7 separate regions of the Homo sapiens genome follow, and regions 1, 2, 4, 5, 6 and 7 are each linked to region 3. The links are contacts of gene promoters, found by promoter capture Hi-C in human tissues and cell types (Jung and others, 2019). All regions are on one chromosome and are shown on one strand. The core of a region is centred on a gene start or on the middle of the fragment in contact, and the rest is flanking DNA. Distances in the headings are between cores, read along the strand shown. Region 1 overlaps CBFA2T2 (CBFA2/RUNX1 partner transcriptional co-repressor 2). Region 2 holds the start of SNTA1 (syntrophin alpha 1). Region 3 holds the start of MAPRE1 (microtubule associated protein RP/EB family member 1). Region 4 overlaps PLAGL2 (PLAG1 like zinc finger 2). Region 5 holds the start of PXMP4 (peroxisomal membrane protein 4). Region 6 holds the start of C20orf144 (chromosome 20 open reading frame 144). Region 7 has its middle 6.3 kb from the start of E2F1.

Region 1 (2,704 bases), core at 130-2,629, 740 kb before region 3:
AGACTGCTCAAAAATGACAGGGGTATGTCAAAAGAACACTAAAGCCAGTTAGAAGGGACTACCACTGGAATTGTGCAACAATTTAAGCATCAAAATAAATAATGATAGTAATGGATTAGAGCATAATCCATATTTAATTTTTTTAACCAATCAACAAGGAAGAAAGGAAAGCATTCCTTCATTAGAATGCCAATATGTAAATGCAGAAACAATGATGGAATTAGAAAATTACCACTAGTAGGGTGCAGCTGCTCATGCTTATAATGTCAGCACTCTGGGAGGTCAAGGTGGAACAATCACTTTAGGCCAGGAGTTCAAAATCTGCTTGGGCAACATAGTGAGACCTTGTCTCTACAAAAAAAAATTAAAAATTAGAAAAAAGAAAATCACCACTAGATGCTGAGACTACTAGTGAATAGAAAACTAATGAAAAACAGGACAACTTCATCATCTCTAAATATACCCAACAAATTACTTATTAATCACAAAGAGGATAGTAATTTTTGCAGTGGAGTAACCTGGCAGACATGACCTTAATACAATGATTAACCAATCACTAATATTGAGACACACTGATTATGTGCCTCCTTAAATGAGGCATTAAGGAGAATACATCCCTTCTATAGTATTCCAGCCTGAAATTCGTAACATTAATGTAATCATAAGGTAACGGCAACGAAACCCAAACTAAGTACAGAACAACTGGTCTGTATTCAAAATTGGAATGGTCAAGAAAAGAAAAGTACCAGGAGGGGAGAAGAGGAGGCAGGCAGGCTGAAGAACTGTTTTAGAATAAGAAAAATTAAAGAGCCGCAGTGGCTCACATTTGTAATCCCAAAACTTTGGGAGGCCAAGGAAGGTGGCTTACTTAAGGTAAGGAGTTCGAGACCAGCCGGAGCAACGTAGTGAGACTCCATCTCTACAAAAAGTAAAAAAAATTAGCCAGGCATAATGGCATGTGCCTATATTCCCAAGTATTCAGGAGGCTGAGGTTGGGGGATTGCCTGAGTCCAGGAGGTCAAGGCTGCAGTGAGCCATTATTGCACCACTGCACCCTAGCCTGGGCACCAGAATGAGACCCTGTCTCTAAGAAAGAAGAAAAAAGGAAAGAGGAAAGGGGAAAGGCAAGGAAGAAAGAGACATGCCAGTTAAATTCAGTGTGTGATGACAGACTGAATTGGATTGAGGTATAAGAGCTATAAAAGACATTATTGAAATAATTTATAAAACCTGAATATAGTCTGTGAATCAGGTTAATAGTATGGTATCATTATTACATTTTCTGATTTTGATAATTGTACTGTGGTTATGTGTGGTTATGTAAGAAAATGCCTTTGATTTCAGGAAATATGCATTTAAGTATTTAGGGATAAAAGGGCATATTTCCACTTTCAGAGTGGTTCAGGAAAAAAACTGTACCTCCAAAATACACACAATGATAAAGCAATTGGAGTAAAATGTAAACAACTTATAGAAAGTTGCAAGAACTCCTAAGTATTTTACTGTATCAAAAACAAAACAAAACAAAAAACAGAAAACAAGTCCCATCCATGACAAAAAAGTGTGAAGACACTCTTGTGGGTATTAAGTGAACATGTGTGTCAGTCCATGATCTAATGATCCCATTCATGACGGTCTCTTCTTTGGTTTCTTACTCTGATGATGACAACTACATGCCATTTTAATGTTTTTTTTTTTTTAAATTGGGCAGCCATTAGGCTGAGACAGCTGGCTCCAGTGCCTAGTAAGCAAACTGAAGCCCAATGTAAACATAAAATGAAACTTAAGCTTAACCAATCAAAAACAAACCTCTAACTAGGGACTTTCCACTGGATCATATCCAAATAAGGCAAGTGCCTAGCTACAGCCAATCAAGTAATTCCTTTACTTTGCTACAGCGTTCAGCCTATAAAAGCCTGCTTCTAAAGCAGAGCTCTCTGAACTTCTTCCAGTTTTGAATGCTGCCTGAATCCTTTAATGCTCACCTAAATTCTGCTAAATGTCTGTCTAAAGTTTTTATTTAAACAATTCTGAACATTTTTAAGTTGTTATTTTTTCTTATGTAATATTCATTTTAATACCTATAATGGGTACTCTGACATTCAATCTAAATTAATAGAAAACAGAAAAATAATTCTACAAATACACTTGAGATGCAGACATCTGAGTTTGATTTATCAGATCAAATCTCTCATCTAGCACATAAAAATGATTCTAGACTTTCAAACAACGTTAAAAAAGAAAAACAGCCAGGCGCAGTGGCTCACACCTGTAACCCCAGCAATTTGGGAGGCTGAGATCACTCCACTGCACTCCAACCTGGACAACAAAAGCGAAACTCCATCTCAAAAAAAAAAAAAAAAAAAAAAAGAAAAGAAAAAGGAAAAGGAAAGAAAAGAAAAGAAAAGAAAAAAGAAAAATAGGCCGGGCGCAGTGGCTCACCCCTGTAACCCCAGCAATTTAGGAGGCTGAGGTGGGCAGATCACTTGAGGTCAGGAGTTCGAGAACAGCCTGGTCAACATGGTGAAACCCCGTCTCTACTAAAAATACAAAACCTAGCTGGGCCAGGTGGCACAAGCCTGTAATCCCACTCAGGAGACTGAGGCAGGAGAATCACTTGAACCCAGGAGGCGAAGGCTGCAGTGAGCTGAGATCATGCCTCTGCACTCCAGCTTGGGTGACAGAGCAACACTGTCTGAAAAAA
Region 2 (2,700 bases), core at 130-2,629, 620 kb before region 3:
GTGATGGTGCAATCACAGCTCACTGCAGCCTGGACCTCCAAGGCTCAAGCGATCCTGCCACCTCAGCTGTGATTACAGGTGTGAGCCACTGTGCCCAGCTGGGGGTGCTCTTAGCTACTCCAGGAGGCTAATGTAAAGATAACACTTGGAAAATATTCTGCCAGCCCTAGGTAAGAGTAAGCATTCACTAAATGAAAGTGATTATTTCTATAGAATAGGGAGTCACAGTTTACCACGTGTTTTCACATTGATTTAATCCTCACACCAGCCCAGTGAAGTAGGTATTATTATGATCCACATTTTACAGATGAGGAAATTGAGGCCTAGAGCAGTGACGTGAGGGGACCAAAGTCGACTTGGAGCTAACAGAGGCAGCAAAGATTAGAAACCATGTCTCCAGTCGCCCAGACCCAGAGCCCCACCTTGCAACCCTCTTCCCACACACCAGTTCTGTTTTTTTTCTGCCAGGCCTCAAAGTGTGGGACTTCAGGCTTTTCTATACTCGACTGTGAACACAGCCAGGGGTTAATCTCTTAAACTTCCCTCCAGTTTTGAAGTGGGGATCCTGCCCACACCTCCCCCAAGCCCTAAGCGGTGTCGGTAGCGGTCTCCTCCAGGGGGCGGGGCCTGTCATCTTTAGAAGCCACGCCAGCGATAAGCCACGCCCACAGACCAAAGCCTCGACCCCCACCCCCCATCCCCCGCCCTCCCCGATAGGAAACCAACTTCTTCCTCAGCTCCCCAACTAGCAACTGTGCCCGCAAGGTCTCTCGCGGCTCAGCATCTACCTTTTTTTTTTTTTTTTTTTTTTGACACAGGGTTTCGCTCTGTCACCCAGGCTGGAGTGCAGTGGCGCGATCGCGGCTTACTGCAGCCTCGAGCTTCTGGGCTGTCATCTAGGCCTCCCAAAGTGTTGGGATTACAGGCGTGAGCCTCCACGCCCAGACGGTGTCTACCTCTTAAACTCAAGCCTTGGAGTCCAACGCTCTACCATACGCAGCCCAGCCCTCCGCCATATGCAGCCCAGCCCGATGCCCAGTGCTTCGCACCAGGATACGTGGTTCTGTCTCTTTTTCATGCGCTCCCACGTCCGGGAGTTACAGTCCCGGCCCTCGATGGGCATTCCGAGCGCCGAGCCCCCTGCGCGGGCTCACTGGGTTCCGCCCCCGACGCGAAGCCCCGCCCCCTGACGCCCCGCCCAGCACCACGCCTCCCGGGCTTTCGCCTTACTTAGTGGCCCGCCCCGCCGCCCTTCTGACCCACCCCGCTAGGTAGTCCCACACGGCGGCCCTCGGCTCCCGGGCCCCGCCCCGGCCTCCTGCATTTGCCCGAGGCCCCCTCCCCAGCACTGGCCACACCCCAGGGTAGCCCCGCCCCCAGAGCTCCTCCCCCAGCGGCCGGGGTAGGGTGGCGGCTGGCCCAGCCGGGCCCCCGCTGCCCTCTGCCCTGGGCGCTTGGTCGGAGCGGGCTGGGCAAAGCGGGACAGGGCGAGCGCGGCGGCCCGGGGGCTCGGAGGCGAAGATGGCGTCCGGCAGGCGCGCCCCGCGCACCGGGCTGCTGGAGCTGCGCGCCGGGGCGGGCTCGGGGGCCGGCGGCGAGCGATGGCAGCGGGTGCTGCTGAGTCTGGCGGAGGACGTGCTGACCGTGAGCCCCGCCGACGGCGACCCTGGTCCCGAGCCCGGCGCTCCGCGGGAGCAGGAGCCCGCGCAGCTCAACGGCGCCGCGGAGCCGGGCGCCGGGCCCCCGCAGCTGCCAGAGGCGCTACTGCTCCAGCGGCGCCGCGTGACGGTGCGCAAGGCCGACGCCGGTGGGCTGGGCATCAGCATCAAAGGTGGGCGCGGGACACCGAGGGCGCGGGGTCGTGGTGTCTGGGGGCAGCCGAGGGCGCAGGGGGCTGGCAGCGCGCCCAGGACATGGAGCTGGAGGCTTCCTGTCTGGGGGTAAGGGGGGTCTGAGGAAACAGGTAACGGAGGGCACTGGGCACACCAAGGTTGGAGGGGGTTTCAGTAGTTGGTGGCCTTAGGGGGCACGGAAGACACAGGTGTGGATAAGATTGTGGGAGCACCAAGGACACGTGGGTGGGAGTTCTGTGTGGAGGCGGGGGGGTCTGAGGGGTAACCAGCATGAACATCAAGGACAAGAGGGGTCCCCCGGAAAGCAGAGTGTGGAGAAAGGGGGTTGAGGCCGGGACACCAGTGGGACAGGGAGGAGGGAGTCCCTGAGAAGCAACCAAGGTGGGTGCAGAGGGGAAGCCTGGAGTCTGGGAAGCACAGGGGTGGATAGGAGGCCTGGGTGCAGGCACAGGCTGGGGTCACAGGCAGAAGGCCAGCAAGGACCTAGGAATCTAAGGACCCAGGAAGGCTGCAGGGAGCCCTGACAGCTGGATTTGGGTCTCCTGATCTGACTATCTCCACCTTGCACAGGATAGAGCTTTCAGCCCCCAGGACTGACCGCTAGTGGGGTGCAGTTAGGGTGCAACCAGACTGTGTTTGAATCCAGGATCAGCTGTGTGAGGTTGCAAAAGTCCCGTCCCGCCTCTGAATCTGTTTCCTCAACTGTATAAGAGGATGACAGAGTTGTGATGTTTCTGAGAGCAGGGCTCACCACACCAGCACACTGTAGGTGCCTAGTTAATTACTGCTGTTAGCGGAGAGGAAAAATGGAGGCCAGCAGATACTCCCAAAGCAACTAAACATAGTT
Region 3 (2,700 bases), core at 79-2,578:
CACTTTGGAGGCCGAGGCGGACAGATCACTTGAGGTCAGGAGTTCGACAACAGCCTGGCCAACATGGCGAAACCTCGTCTCTACTAAAAAATACAACAATTAGCCGGGCTTGGTGGCGCGCGCCTGTAATCCCGACTACTCGGGAGGCTGAGGCACGAGAATCGCTTGAACCCGGGAGGCGGAGGTTGCAGTGAGCGATGGTGCCACTGCACGCCTGGGCAACAGAATAAAACTCTGTCTCAAAAAAAAAAAAAAAAGGAAGAAGAGAATCTCTCTTAAAGACAGTGTTAGTATTAAAAGACACAAAGCCACATGGAGCACTTAACAGTGCTTGACACAAAACAAGTGCCCAACTAACAAAGAGCTGCTATTATCATTACTACTGTTAGAGACATGCCATCGGAGAAGCGGATGCCCGGCCTAGCATAACCTCCCTCAATGGGCCCCAGGATCCTCATCCCCAAAATGGGGCAGAGGTCAAGCTCTGCCCTGCAGCATCCGAGGGCAACTGTGAAGTAGGGACTGAACTAGCACTGTTGATACCATCCCGTTATACTGTCCTCCTGCTCATCATAATGTGGATTCCTGGAGAGCAAATCTTTGTTCCCGGGAAAACAGCCAGGGTTTAGCACGGTGCCCAACACCTAGTGGGCATTCAATAAACACACACTGAAGAAAGGAGGGAGTCCAAGAGCTGGCTTACTTTCTGCCATACATCGCGCTAAGAGTTTAATGTGGGTAGTATTACTGTCCCCGTTTTACAGATGAGGAAGCTGAGATCCACAGCGGTTAAAGCACCTGTCCAAGGTCACACCGCACGGAACCCAACCCAGGTCTGACTCCACCACCCGATCTCTCGGCCCTCAGGCAACACGGCCTCCCACAATGTGCGTCCCCAGAGCTCCCAGGACGGCCCACCTCGCCCACACCCTCCCAGGGCCCAACCACCCTGGGACCTCCAGTCGCTGCAGCGCAGGGACCACACCTCAGCGGCGGCCCAGAAACCCCCACCCCGCGTAGCAGCAGCCCACTTCCGGCCCGAGACCCCGCCCCCTGAGCAGAGCGCAGCGCGCGCCCCCAGGCCCAGCCCGCGCGCGCCGGGTGACGGCCCCGCCCTTCCCCCACCCGGCTCGAACAGCACCGCCGTGTGGAACGGCCCTGGCGCTGCCCGTAGGGCCTGCCCGCGCACGCCCGGCCTTGGCCCACGCGGCCGCCCCCCCAGCCGCACCCCCCGGGCCCGCTAGCCGGCTCACCGGCTCTCGGCAGAACCGCGTCCACTGCCCGCAACCGGCTCCGGTTCCGTCTTCGTCTCGTTCAAACCGCCAGACCCCGCCCGCCCGCCCGCGCGATGACCTCACACGCACCCCCTCGTTACGCGCCGACGTAAAGGCTCGCCATCCTCCGCCGGCTCCTTTTATAGAGAGGGTCTCAGCCGCGCGCCGGGGGCGGAGCTCGGCCCCTGATCCACAGAACGGTAGCCGAGGGGCGGGGCCCCGACCGCCGGGGCGACTGCGGCACGTGGTCGGTCGCAGCCAATGAGGTCCCGCCTCGGCCCGGTGTGACTCAGTTACAAAATCCCTATGGCAGTAACCAAAAAGAAAATTGCTTTTACAATGAATTTTTTTTTTTTTTTGCTTAGAGATGTATGGAGGTCTCGCTGTGTTGCCCAGGGTGGTCTCGAACTCTTGGCCTCAAGCGATCCTCCCGCCTTAGCCTCCCAAAGCGCTGGGATAACAGGCGTGAGCCACCGCTCCCAGGCTTACAATTAATTTCTGTAAGAATGGGTTATTGAATCATAAAGATACCTAATAGACACTTTGGGGAAACGCTTAGAAGTCAACTTTCTGGGCCGGGTGCAGTGGCTCACGCCTTTAATCCCAGCACTTTGGGAGGCCCAGGTGGGAGGATCACCTGAGGTCAGGAGTTTGAGACCAGCCTGGCCAACATAGTGAAACCCCATCTCTACTAAAAATACAAAAATTAGCCTGGCGTGGTGGTGGGCGCCTGTAATTCCAGCTACTTGGGAAGCTGAGGCAGGAGAATCACTTGAACCCAGGAGACGGAGGTGGCAGTGAGGCGAGACTGCACCACTGCACTCCAGTCTGGGCGACAGAGCAAGACTCTGTCTCAAAAAAAAAAAAAAAAAGTCACGTTCTGTGACGCCCCCGCCCCCCCATCTGCAATATCATGCGGCATATTTTCTTCTTAGTACCATAAGAAGGCATCTTGTGCCTTTACTGTCTGTCTCCTGTAAAGTCCACAGGAGCAAGGACCTCCTGAGTCCTGTTCCGGGTTGTTTCCCAATGGCTGTACATACATTCTCTCTTGCCCACTCCCTCTTTTTTTTTTTTTTTTTTTTAAGAGATGGGGTCTTGCCATGTTGCCCAGGCTGGGCTGGTCTCCTGGGCTCGAGAGATCCACCCGCATCGGCCTCCCAAAGTGCTGGGATTACAGGCGTGAGCCACCACACCTGGCCCTTACATTCTCAAGAGAGCCTTGGCTGAAGGAGGAACTGGGCTGGGCGTGGTGGCTCACACCTGTAATCCCAACACTTTGGGAGGCCAAGGCGGATGAATTACCTGAGGTCAGGAGTTGGAAACCAGCCTGTCCAACATGGCGAAACCCCATCTCTACTAAAAATGCAAAACTTAGCCGGGCATGGTGGTGGGCGCCTGTAATCCCAGCTACTTGGGAGGCTGA
Region 4 (2,700 bases), core at 26-2,525, 630 kb after region 3:
ACTGTGGGACCCTTGAGACGCTTCCACTCTGATTCAGAAACACACTTCTACCTCTTTACTGTTAACTCTTAACAGATGCAGTCAGCAGTTTCTGGGCACTTCTCTCAGTAGGTGCCTCATGCTGACTTCTCCAGTAGGGTTTCAGGACAAACTACCAAGGAATTGCCTCAGCCTCCTACCAGTCCTCCCTCACCCACCTTCTGTCTAGGTTCACTTGGTTTGTCATCAGGAACTGAGCAGGTCCAGGACTCAGCTTTCTGCTTCAGCCTAAGCCAGTACTCCTTGTTTGAGGTAAAAGCCTTAAAATTTAGCTCCCTAGCTCTTGATTAGAAGCAATTTGGAGTAAGTGTGTTTTGATTTAGGCAGGGTAGCTTGGGATACCTTTTTAAAAACACCAGATATTAAAATGTCTGGCAAGGTTAGAATCAGACTAGATGATTTGCTTCTAAAAATTAGTTTCAGTGAGTCCCAGGGACTAATTAAGGTTTATTTTAAAAAGTGTCTACCTTGGTACGCAGCCACCTCCTGCATGCTGTGCATGTTATTGGGACTTGTATTATAGGTGATGGTATGTGAGAATCCAGTTGGGACTCGCTGTTGCCATCCTCTTTGTTGTATCTGGTTTTCATCACTAGACTCAGCAACCCTTCTCACCTTAACTGCCACCTTCCCTACACTCTCAGTTTACAGAGGCCACTGGGCCTCTGGCTGCAGAATACAAAGTCCCGGGCTGTTAGAGGAGTCCTTTCCTCTCTGCCTGCCCTTTCCTGTCCCTCCCTCGAATTCTCTCTCCCCGTAAGTGATGCTGGAAAAGTCATAGGACTGGCAAAGCAACTGTTTAAACCCTTTGTAACCGGGGCCTTGCCCCCACCTCCTGTCTTTTCTCCTTGCCTTCCCCACTCCTGTGTCCTCCCATCTATCCTGTCTTTCCTTTCCTCCTCTCAGTGTCCTCAGCACCCACAAGGAATTTTCCTATCACTGTGAACTTTGCTGGTACAGAGGAATAATATCTGCCTTCACCTTTTTTTTTTTGGACCATAGCTAGCCAGTCATTTCTTAAACCTCCCTTCCTAAAATCTGGGGGGTCGGGGGGAAAGAAAAAAAAAGCCTTAGTGGCCTGGTTGTTCAAAGGATAAGAATAGCTTTATCCTGCACTCAGTACCCGAACTCACTTCAGTATGCTTACTGAGGCCATGAGAACCTGAGGGGCATCTGCCCAGGACAGGAGCCATGGCATATGACAAAGACCAATGAGGGACCAGGAAAAAAAGTGATGTCCCCTTTCCCTGCCACCTCCAGCCTCTGCCAGCAATGAGCTGTCCCCCTCCCACCCTACACAGTAGCTGGTCAGGGCTGAGTACAGTCCTGGGGGTAAGGGGATGACATGCCCAGGTGTCAGCTCAAAGGATCTCTGCATCATCTTGAGGTGGGAGGCAGGGAAAGGAGCGCCAATGAGGTTCCCTGCAACCCCCGCCCTCCAGCCCACCGCCCAACCTTTTACAAATGGCATTTTCTTAATTGAAAATCCGGGAAGCAGGTGTGATTACTTTTTTGCTCGTAGATATTGTCCTAAGTTGGAATTCTCCCACTGCCCTAAAACTTTCCCTAGTAGTCCTTTAAACTCCCCCCTCCCTTTTTGGTAGCTGTTTTCTCCGTCCTCTCTCCACCTGCCCTCTTATCTAGGAGCTGTTTGTAAGCACGATTTTTTTAACAGGTTATATTGTACAGGATCAATATTTTGCTTTTTAACAAGGATATTTATGTAATAAGAAACTTTGCCTTAGGCAGGTGTTGGCCAGAAAAGTCCAGATTCCTCTGGGATCCCACCCTGGCCTCTCCTGGAACTCTGAACCTGCTGTGGAAGGAATTGGCCATGACCTTCACCTCTGGAGAGTAGGGTCTATGGCGAGGGAAAAGGGTGTTCACCATGATAACCTAGTGCCTCCATAGAGGGGTTTGGAAAAATTCCAGTCCGATTTCTTTGTGTGTCAGCTGACTTCCTTAGCTGATTGTTCCCACTTGCACCTCTCCACCTTTGGCACTAGAACTCCTGAGACACCACTTCTCATGCTTCTCCCTCCCTACCAGCGGTCAAGGCTTTGGAGCCACTCTTTTGTAACTCCAGATTATTTAAAGAGAAAAGTACAAGACAGAAATCTTCTAGCACTTTGTAAACACAGTGAATAACCTCTTGGAGTATTTTTGGCTTTATATAAAACAAGGTTTTTAATTGTAAAGTATAAGTGCCATTAGAAAATGCACAGGGCATATCTTTGTTAAAGTAGATTTTTCAATGTTTTACAGAATTACATTTTCAAAAAAAGGTTTTTATAATGAAGTTGTTTATTAAAAACTTCTGAATGATGTGTTTGGGAGTTGTGAACCTGTCTGATTGGGAAACGGTTGGAGAGAGCCTCGAATTGGGAAGAATTGGAGTCTCCAGACATCTTTAGCATCCAGGATGATGGTGAGCGTAGGGCAGACAGTAAAAACCCCTCCCATCAGCACCTATAAGCTTTGTACTTTTAAGTTAAATATCATATTTGCATGTCTTTGAGGTAAGTGGCATAATTCTATCAGTTAATCATCTTGGATGCAAGAGTCAGACAGCCAAAATCAAACTGGCTTTAAACACTGAAATTGCATGTAACTGGAAAATGCCAGATGTAGAGCAGTCTTTGGGTTAGGCTTGATCCAGTG
Region 5 (2,700 bases), core at 159-2,658, 900 kb before region 3:
CATAGTAAACAAGTCTAAAGTGTCAAAAGTTCTATAAAAAAAAAAAACACATAAGAACCAGGGTGGCCGGGCACGATGGCTCACATTTGTAATTCCAGCACTTTGGGAGGCCGAGGCGGGCGGATCACAAGGTCGGGAGTTTGGACTAGCCTGGCCAATATGGTGAAACCCCGTCTTTACTAAAAATACAAAAATTAGCCGGGCGTGGTGGCATGCACCTGTAGTCCTAGCTCCTCAGGAGGCTGAGGCAGAAGAATCCCTTGAACCTGGGAGGCAGAAGTTGAAGTGAGCTGAGATCACACTACTGCGCTCCAGCCTGGGTGATAGATCCGAGACTCAGTCTAAAAAAAAAAAAAAAAAAAAAAGAGCCAGGGTAATGAGTCAGAGTGGACAGTGCTACTTCAAATTGGATGTCTCAGAAAGTCTCTCTGATGAAGTGGCATTTGAGCTGAAACCTGAAGGATGAGAAGAAGCCCATCATGGGAAGAGCCCAGGATGGCGAATATCAAGCAGGGAACCAGCAAGTGCAAAGGCCCTGAGGTAGAAGGGTTCTTGGCCCAAGGAACAGAAAGGAGGCTGTTTGGCTGGGAAGCAGTGAGGTGGCAAGTGCTGGAACGTGGGGTCAGAGGGAGAGGCACGGACCAGATCACAGGAGGTCTTCTCTCTTGGGCCTTGGGGAGGAGTTTGGATTCTAAGAATAAGTGGACGCCGGCTGGGTTCACGCCTGTAATCCCAGCACTTTGGAAGGCCGAGGCAGGTGGATCACCTGAGGTCAGGAGAGCAGCCTGGCCAACATGGTGAAACCCCGTCTCTACTAAAAATACAAAAAAATTTGCCAGGCATGGTGGTGGGTGCCTGTAGTCCCAGCTACTCAGGAGGCTGAGGCAGGAGAACTGCTTGAACCCTGGGGGGTGGAGGTTGCAGTGAGCCGAGATCGCGCCACTGCACTCCAGCCTGGGTGACAGAGCGAGGCTGCATCTCAAAACATACATACGTACATGGAAGCCATTGAGGGGCCATGTGACTGACACTCTGGGAAGATCGCTATGGTAAAGGATATCCCAGTCAGAACTATCTCGCATAAAGATGGGGCCCTGCTCCTCCCTGTATCATCACCTGTCGCCCATCCCATCTCTAAGCAGGGCCACTCCTCATTCAGGAGCCCTCCTTCCAAGTACACGCCTCCTTCCAAACCCACTCGTGAACCCAACATGGCCCAAGGGAAAGTGCCTTCTGATTGGACAAATCGTGTGTGACCTTGGGCGGAGCCCACTGTGATTGGCTACAAGCTTTCCTTTCTCTTCCAGTCAGACAACTATTTCGATGAGTGCTATTGTCCCATGAGACAAGTACGCTCTCTGATTGGTCTTCCATGCATGAGTGACGCAGAAACAGCCTATAGACGCCACGAGTCGGCGGCGCTACCGAGGGGCTGTGGGCGCGCAGCTGGAACCTCCGGCTGTCAGTGCGCTTACAGTTCCTAACCCCGACCCTGCGCGCAGCCCGCACTATGGCAGCCCCGCCGCAGCTAAGGGCTCTGCTCGTAGTCGTCAACGCACTGCTGCGCAAGCGCCGCTACCACGCTGCGTTGGCCGTGCTTAAGGGCTTCCGGAACGGGGCTGTGTGAGTGGGGCCGTCGGGCCGGGCTGGGGCTGAGGGATGTCCTGCCTGGGGTCAGAGGCGCGAGTTCGAAGTCCGATGCCGCGGTGCTGTTTGCCCTGGAGCAGTCCTCGTGTGTCTCTAAGTCTCGGAGGTCACCATCTGTGCAATGGGAGCTGGATTTTGGCTTGCGCGCCTTCCCAGCTCTGAACTGGGGCTCCCACTGCACATTTTCTGGGTCTTCCAACCTTTGCAGCCTGGCCCTCTTGCTTTGACTCCTCCCATGCCAGCTTCTGTATCCCCTCATTTGGGTTCAGTTCACCTCACCTCTCTGTGTGCCTTTGGGCCTCAACGGCCCCATCTGCACAATGGGGAACTGGACTCTGGCCTCTAGCTGGCAGGCGGATGCCTCCTGTCTATTCTGTCCCCATGAAGCTTGCCCATGGGCTTGCATCCTGCTTCTCACTTCTCACCTGTAGGACTCCAGCGCTAAGTCCCGTTCGGCTCAGGGGGCTCCTGGGACGTGACAATGAATGTAAAAGAAGCTGCAACTATCCTGGCATCTTACCTGCAAGAGAGGTCTTGGGGTCATTGCCCTGGCTGGTGCCTAGAGGGGAGCTCAGTCTCCTTTAAACCTAGTGCATAACAGCCACCATTTATTGAGGGCCTACAGTGCCAGAACCGGGGACAAAGCAGAGAACAAACCAGAGAAAGTGGTTTGTGTCCCCCAGAATTGGCATCCTAGTGGCAACGTGGGATGGTGGGAAGGATGTGGATGCCTTGGCTTGAACCCTGGCCCCACCTACCCGTGTGATCTGGAGGAAGTCATTTAGCCTCTCTAAGCCTCAATATCTGTAAAATGGGCATGGTACTAGTACTTATACTATCAGGATTGAGTCAATATGTGTGAAATGCTTAGCACAGGCTGGCCACGGTGGCTCACACCTGTAATCCTAGCACTTTGGGAGGCCGAGGCAGGCGGATTATCTGAGGTCAGGAGTTCGAGACTAGCCTGGCCAACATGGCAAAACCCCGTTTCTACCAAAAATACAAAAATTAGCCGGGTGTAGTGTCACATGCCTGTAGTCCCGGCTACATGGG
Region 6 (2,728 bases), core at 1-2,500, 840 kb before region 3:
CAGCGGCTGCCGCTTGTCCAGGGGGAGAATCAGCACGATCCTGGTCTGGGGGTGGAACAGGGGCGTGAGGCGGGAGAGCGCGCTAGGGCCGAGCCCACGACCCGGGGCCGCTCCGCGCTTCTCCTGGGACCCTCGTCCACCCGGGTCCTGTCGTCCACCCGGGTCCTGTCATCCTCTCGTGCACAGGGCTGGAGGGGACCCCTGTCCAATTCAGGCCGCGGGGAAGCCCGCCCTTCCCTGCGTGGCGCCCCGGACTCCGCCTCCTTTCTGGAAACCCTCATCCATCCCAGGCTGACTTCCTGAGACCAGCTCCGTCTAAGTTTATGAGATCCCTTCCAGGCCCTATGTCAGGGGCTTTCAGCACCTCCCACCCCCGCCTGGTCCAGGGCTTCTGCTCATTTGAGAGGGAGACAGGGAAGTTCTGAGCCTAGGAGCTGAAGAGAGGACACTAGGGAATTCCCCCTGCCTCTAGCTCCAGTAGTACCAACTAGAACTGATTCTCCGTGTTGGGATCTCCACCCGTTCGTCCAGGGTTGGGAGAGAATCCCACTCATGCTCACCCCCCGGGGCTCTCAAGTCTCATCCACTTTCTGGTTCTGGAATCTCTGCCCTCCCTTCTGGGCTTTTTTTGTTTAAGACTGAGTCAAACAGGGTCTTGCTGTGTCCTACAGGCTGGAGCAGTGGTGCTGTCAACGGCTCACTGCATCCCTGACCTCCTGGGCTCACGTAGTCCACCTCAGTCTTCTGAGTAGCTGGGACTGCGGGCATTCACCACCACAACCAGCTAAGTTTTAATTTTTGTAGAGATGGGGCCTCCCTATGTTGCCCAGGCCAATCTCAAACTCCTGGGCTGAAGTTATCCACCCACCTTGGCCTACCAACGTGTTGGGATTACAGGCGTGAGCCACCTTGAAAGGACCCCCATCCACACCCATATGGGCTCCTGGGATCCTCATCCTTGGGAGAGATTTTCGAATTCCTCCCTCACCCCCTAGGACTTCTGCATACAAGGCCTAGACTCCCAGCATCCCTTCCCACCCACTTGTCCAGCTTTCTCTGCCCCCCAGCTGCCTCCCCAGCCCTGCTCCCCATCCCCCGCCCTCACAGCCGGCTTCTTCCGAGTGAGGTGGTTGAGGAACGATTTCCACCAGGCCTTGTCCATGTCAGCCGGCCTCTCCTTGCGGGCCTGCTTGGGTGCTTTGGTCCTTTTGTGGGAACTATAGTTTCCCATGGCAGGGCTGGTCACCACTGGGGACGATGGCCCACACTCCGTCTGCTCTGCCCCCTGGGCCCTGGCAACATTGTGACCTCACGGGCTGACCTCACCAATTGCAGGCTCTGAGCACCGCCTTCCAGGGCCCACAGGTGAATCTGGGCTCCACTCAGTCACTTCTAGCCTTGGTTTCTCAGCTGTAAAACTGGGCTAATGATCATAAATGAGGCAATGCATGTAAGGTGCTTAGTGGTGAATAGAGGGGGATTTCTGTGGTTTGGGTATGAATTTTGGCCCTGCTACTAACTTGCTATGTGACCTTAGCCCAGGTAATCAACCTCTCTGGACCTGTTTTCTCATCTGCAAAATGGGGTCAATTATGGTTCCTGTAAATTGTTACAAAGGTTAAATGAGGCCTGGCATGGTGGCTAATGCCTGTAGTCTCAGTACTTTGGGAGGCCGAGGCGGGTGGATCACCTGAGGTCAGGAGTTCGAGTCCAGCCTGGGCAACATAGTGAAACCCCGTCTCTACTAAAAATACAAACATTAGCCAGGTGTGGTGGCACAGGCCTGTAAACCTAGCTATTCAAGAGGCTGAGGCAGGAGAATTGCTTGAAGCTGGGAGGCAGAGGTTGCGGTGAGCCAAGATCATGCCGCTTCACTCCAGCCTGGGTGATACAGTGAGACTCTGTCTCAGAAAAACAAAAGACTAAATGAAATTCTTCTTGCAGTAGTGCTTGGCTCTGAGTGGGTGCTTCTGTCTGTTCTCTGGTTGAAAGCAACAGAAACTAATCATCTCAAATACCCAAAAAGGAATTTTTTGGGAAGATTTCATGGAGATAGAAACCCTGGCCTGTCTGAGAATGAAAAGACCCAGCCTCTTCTCTGTCCCTGTCTCCTAGCTCATAAGCCTGGCCCAGGAGGTCCCATCCGATGGCTGAGCTGAGGCAGGTCATGGCAGGAGATGAAGTCTCTGATGGATGGGGCTTCTGGAGTCTCCTCGGAGAGGGCAGGCACCTGGACTGCAGCTCCCCAGGACTCCCACCCTGATGCGTGTGTGTGTGTGTGGTAGGGGTTAGGCAATTCTCAGGACATCTGTGACTCCTGGGTGTACAAGTGGGCAGGCCCTTTATTGTATTACACTTGACGATAGATGGCTGGTAGGTCTGGCATCGAGAGCTTACGTGCCAGACCCTGGGCTGAGTCCTATGCAGGAATTAACTCCTGGGACGTTCTTGCAGCTCCATGTGCTGAGTTTCATCTTTCCTGTTTGATAGATGAGGAAATGGAAGCTCCAGGAACTGACGGTTGTTGAGGAGCCTCAGAATCCCATGCTGGGCCATGCAGGGCCTAGCATTTGGGCAGCCTCCCTGCCTCTCTGCCACCCTGAGAGGGGCTGGGAGGAGGCTGGCAGTGTCGGTTGGGGTCAGTGCCGGCGTGTGTGTCTGAGTGAGAATGGCAACCTGATTGTCTTTTATCAGCAGCTCCTAGTAAAAAGCACCCAGTGTTGTGTGT
Region 7 (2,700 bases), core at 23-2,522, 870 kb before region 3:
CATGGCCCCTCGGGGGCCTACCTCCTGCCCACTGGGCCCCTGGCATCCCCGGCTTCCCAGCTGGCCCAATTGTTGTTACTCCCCAGGGAGTCATGGGAACACACTCCCCCTGCCCCGCCACCCCCCTTTTCCCAGACAGGGCAAGGCCCTAACAATGTCCCTCAGCCAGCCAGTGGCCTGGACACAATACCCCTGTTTCGGTTTGCTGCCAGCTCCAGGAGGCCTGCTGGGTTTCCTGGCCTGTGTGGCATATATATAACTCTGGCTTCCAGCGGGGATTTTTTTGTTTGTTTGTTTGTTTTTTAAAAAAAGAATCTCTGGCTCCTCCTCTTTGAATATCTTAATATATTATAAAAAGTCTTTCTCTTCCCATCCTGAGCCCTCCCCATATGCCTCCCTGACTGCATTTGCCATGTGCCTGTCAAGCCGGGGACCAAATGCAGGTCAGCAGGTGTCAGTGAGAAAATGACAAAAAGAAAGAAAAGCTGATCACTCCACCATGACCAGCCTCGAATGTGCTGGGGATGCTGAAGGTCATGAGGACAACCTGAGGGCCTGTGACGTGGCGGGCCCTGAGCCTGGCACTTTTTGTACACCACAGCTTGTCACTTCTAAGATGCCATCCAATATGAGATATGCCGTTTTGAGCCCCTAAGAAAAATAGTTACTGACTACAAATGGATATTCCACTGATCCTAGGATGCACCTCAATTTCAGAGAGGTTAAAATATGAAAGAAAAGGTGTCAGAATCAATGGAATATGGTATTATTTCATTTTACACGCTTCGTTGCCCTCCAAACATAGTTTTTTTTTTTTCCTCCTTGTGGCTAATAGAATGTGGGAGGCAGTGCAGGAATTGCTTCATGAAAATTCTGCTATTCTGCAGCCTAACAAGTTTTTCGTTTTTTTCTGTTTTTTTTTTTTTTTTTGAGACAGAGTCTCATTCTGTCACCTAGGCTGGAGTGCAGTGGCGCGATCTCAGCTCACTGCCATCTCCACTTGCTGGGTTCAAGCAACTCTCCTGCTTCAGCCTCCCAAGTAGCTGGGATTACAGGTGTGTGCCACCACAACCAGCTAATTTTTTTATTGTTTTGTTTTTTTATGAGACAGAATTTTGCTCTGTCGCCCAGACTGGAGTGCAATTGGCGTGATCTTGGCTCACTGCAACCTCCTCCTCCCAGGCTCAAGCGATTCTCCTGCCTCAGCCTCCTGAGTAGCTGGGATTACAGGCGTCTGCCACCACGCCCGGCTAATTTTTGTACTTTTAGTAGAGATGGGGTTTCGCCATGTTGGCCAGGCTAGTCTCGAACTCCTGACCTCAGGTGATCCACCCGCCTTGGCCTCCCAAAGTGCTGGGATTACAGGCGTGAGCCATTGCGCCCAGCAAGAAGCATTTCTTCAGAGGAAAAATTGAGAGGGGAGTGTAGGCAAGCCACTTCAGGGAGTCATTCTGCACTCTTCACAACAGCTGACATTCATTGAGCTCTCCCTATGTGCCAGGCATGTTAATAACTCAATGTCCTAACAACTCCATCAGGTAAACACTATGATTATTATCATCACTATTTTACAGATGAAAAAACTGAGCCCCTCAACTGTAAAGGCCTCCTACTCCCACCTTCGCTGTGGCCCTGGTCAGAGGAGGCATAGTCATATGTCCGGTTTCGCCCCACTCCTTGGAAAAGCATGACCCCTCCTGAGAGGCTTGGGTGACGCAGAGAAAGGAAGTTGCCATGGGTGAGGCTTGGAGAGAAGGGAGGTCCCCAGAGCGTGCACTCAGAGAGTGACCAGGGCTGGGGGGAGACTTGAGAATCGACTGAGACCTATGCAGTTACCTTGGACCTCAGACCCTCTGGCCTGAACCCACGGAACATATGGGCCAACTGATGGTGAAGGACTTGGCCAAGGCCACACAGCCAGGCTGCTGGCTGGCACCAAACCCCCTGTCTGCTGTTTGATTACAAATATCTGCCTTTTTTTTTTTTTTTTTGAGATGGAGTCTCACTCTGTCACCCAGGCTGGAGTGCAATGGCTTGATCTTGGCTCACTACAACCTCCACCTCCCCGGTTCAAGTGATTCTCCTGCCTCAGCCTCCCAAGTTGCTGGGATTACAGTCGCCTGCCACCACACCCAGCTAATTTTTGTATTTTTAATAGAGATGGGGTTTCACCATGTTGGTCAGGCTGCTCTCGAACTCCTGACCTCAGGTGATCCACCCACCTCGGCTTCCCAAAGTGCTGGAATTACAGGCGTGAGCCACCGCACCCAGCCACGAATATCCACTTTTCCCTCTCTTCTATGTCCATGTTTTTGTTGTTGTTGTTGTTTGTTTGTTTGTTTTTAGATGGAGTTTCACTCTTGTTGCCCAGACTGGAATGCAATGGTGTAGTCTTGGCTCACTGCAACCTCTGCCTCCCAGGTTCCAGCAATTCTCCTGCCTCAGCCACCTGTGTAGCTGGGATTACAGGTGCCCACCACCACGCCCAGCTAATTTTTGTATTTTTAGTAGAGACGGGGTTTCACCATGTTGGCCAGGCTGGTCTCGAACTCCTGACCTCAGATGATCCACCTGCCTCGGCCTCCCAAAGTGCTGGAATTACAGGCATGGGCCACGACACCCGGCCTGTCCATATGTTATCTTTGGTTACTTGCAAGGCAGAGAAGCTGTGCTGGTACCAGTCAGTTCCTTGGCGGTAAT

The links. Contacts are between HindIII fragments. The study calls those that stand out against the background at their distance.
Region 1: a fragment that was not itself captured here is called in contact with the fragment with the promoter of MAPRE1 in region 3 in 2 of the 25 tissues and cell types used here (aorta and bladder).
Region 2: a contact is called between the fragment with the promoter of SNTA1 here and the fragment with the promoter of MAPRE1 in region 3, in 1 of the 25 tissues and cell types used here (hippocampus).
Region 4: a fragment that was not itself captured here is called in contact with the fragment with the promoter of MAPRE1 in region 3 in 1 of the 25 tissues and cell types used here (aorta).
Region 5: the fragment with the promoter of PXMP4 here is called in contact with the fragment with the promoter of MAPRE1 in region 3 in 1 of the 25 tissues and cell types used here (dorsolateral prefrontal cortex).
Region 6: the fragment with the promoter of C20orf144 here is called in contact with the fragment with the promoter of MAPRE1 in region 3 in 1 of the 25 tissues and cell types used here (dorsolateral prefrontal cortex).
Region 7: a contact is called between a fragment that was not itself captured here and the fragment with the promoter of MAPRE1 in region 3, in 1 of the 25 tissues and cell types used here (hippocampus).

Annotation. Positions count from the first base shown.
Region 1 is chr20:33,554,267-33,556,970 of GRCh38, reverse strand. All of the region lies in intron 1 of CBFA2T2 (CBFA2/RUNX1 partner transcriptional co-repressor 2), which reads right to left. Among named protein-coding and RNA genes, the nearest start is that of CBFA2T2, 66 kb to the right of the region's middle. RefSeq lists an enhancer at 1,632-1,791. The HindIII fragment of the contact is 6,731 bases long and covers 1-2,704 here.
Region 2 is chr20:33,442,442-33,445,141 of GRCh38, reverse strand. SNTA1 (syntrophin alpha 1) reads left to right here and starts at 1,379. Exons shown (of 8, transcript NM_003098.3): 1 at 1,379-1,831. The coding sequence starts at 1,522. RefSeq lists enhancers at 374-433, 405-905, 884-953 and silencers at 1,184-1,663, 1,774-1,833. The HindIII fragment of the contact is 21,074 bases long and covers 1-2,700 here.
Region 3 is chr20:32,818,582-32,821,281 of GRCh38, reverse strand. MAPRE1 (microtubule associated protein RP/EB family member 1) reads right to left here and starts at 1,328. Exons shown (of 7, transcript NM_012325.3): 1 at 1,254-1,328. RefSeq lists enhancers at 1-279, 280-949 and a silencer at 1,022-1,611. The HindIII fragment of the contact is 10,810 bases long and covers 1-2,700 here.
Region 4 is chr20:32,192,174-32,194,873 of GRCh38, reverse strand. It overlaps PLAGL2 (PLAG1 like zinc finger 2), which reads left to right. Exons shown (of 3, transcript NM_002657.3): 3 at 1-2,370. Among named protein-coding and RNA genes, the nearest start is that of PLAGL2, 14 kb to the left of the region's middle. The HindIII fragment of the contact is 8,636 bases long and covers 1-2,700 here.
Region 5 is chr20:33,719,018-33,721,717 of GRCh38, reverse strand. It overlaps PXMP4 (peroxisomal membrane protein 4), which reads left to right and starts at 1,408. Exons shown (of 4, transcript NM_007238.5): 1 at 1,408-1,623. The coding sequence starts at 1,511. RefSeq lists an enhancer at 1,812-1,861. The HindIII fragment of the contact is 6,661 bases long and covers 1-1,662 here.
Region 6 is chr20:33,660,849-33,663,576 of GRCh38, reverse strand. It overlaps C20orf144 (chromosome 20 open reading frame 144), which reads right to left and starts at 1,250. Exons shown (of 2, transcript NM_080825.4): 1 at 1,106-1,250; 2 at 1-45. The coding sequence starts at 1,231. All of the region lies in intron 5 of NECAB3 (N-terminal EF-hand calcium binding protein 3), which reads left to right. RefSeq lists an enhancer at 1-667. The HindIII fragment of the contact is 51,797 bases long and covers 1-2,728 here.
Region 7 is chr20:33,691,315-33,694,014 of GRCh38, reverse strand. No RefSeq gene overlaps it. Among named protein-coding and RNA genes, the nearest start is that of E2F1, 6.3 kb to the right of the region's middle. The HindIII fragment of the contact is 8,188 bases long and covers 1-2,700 here.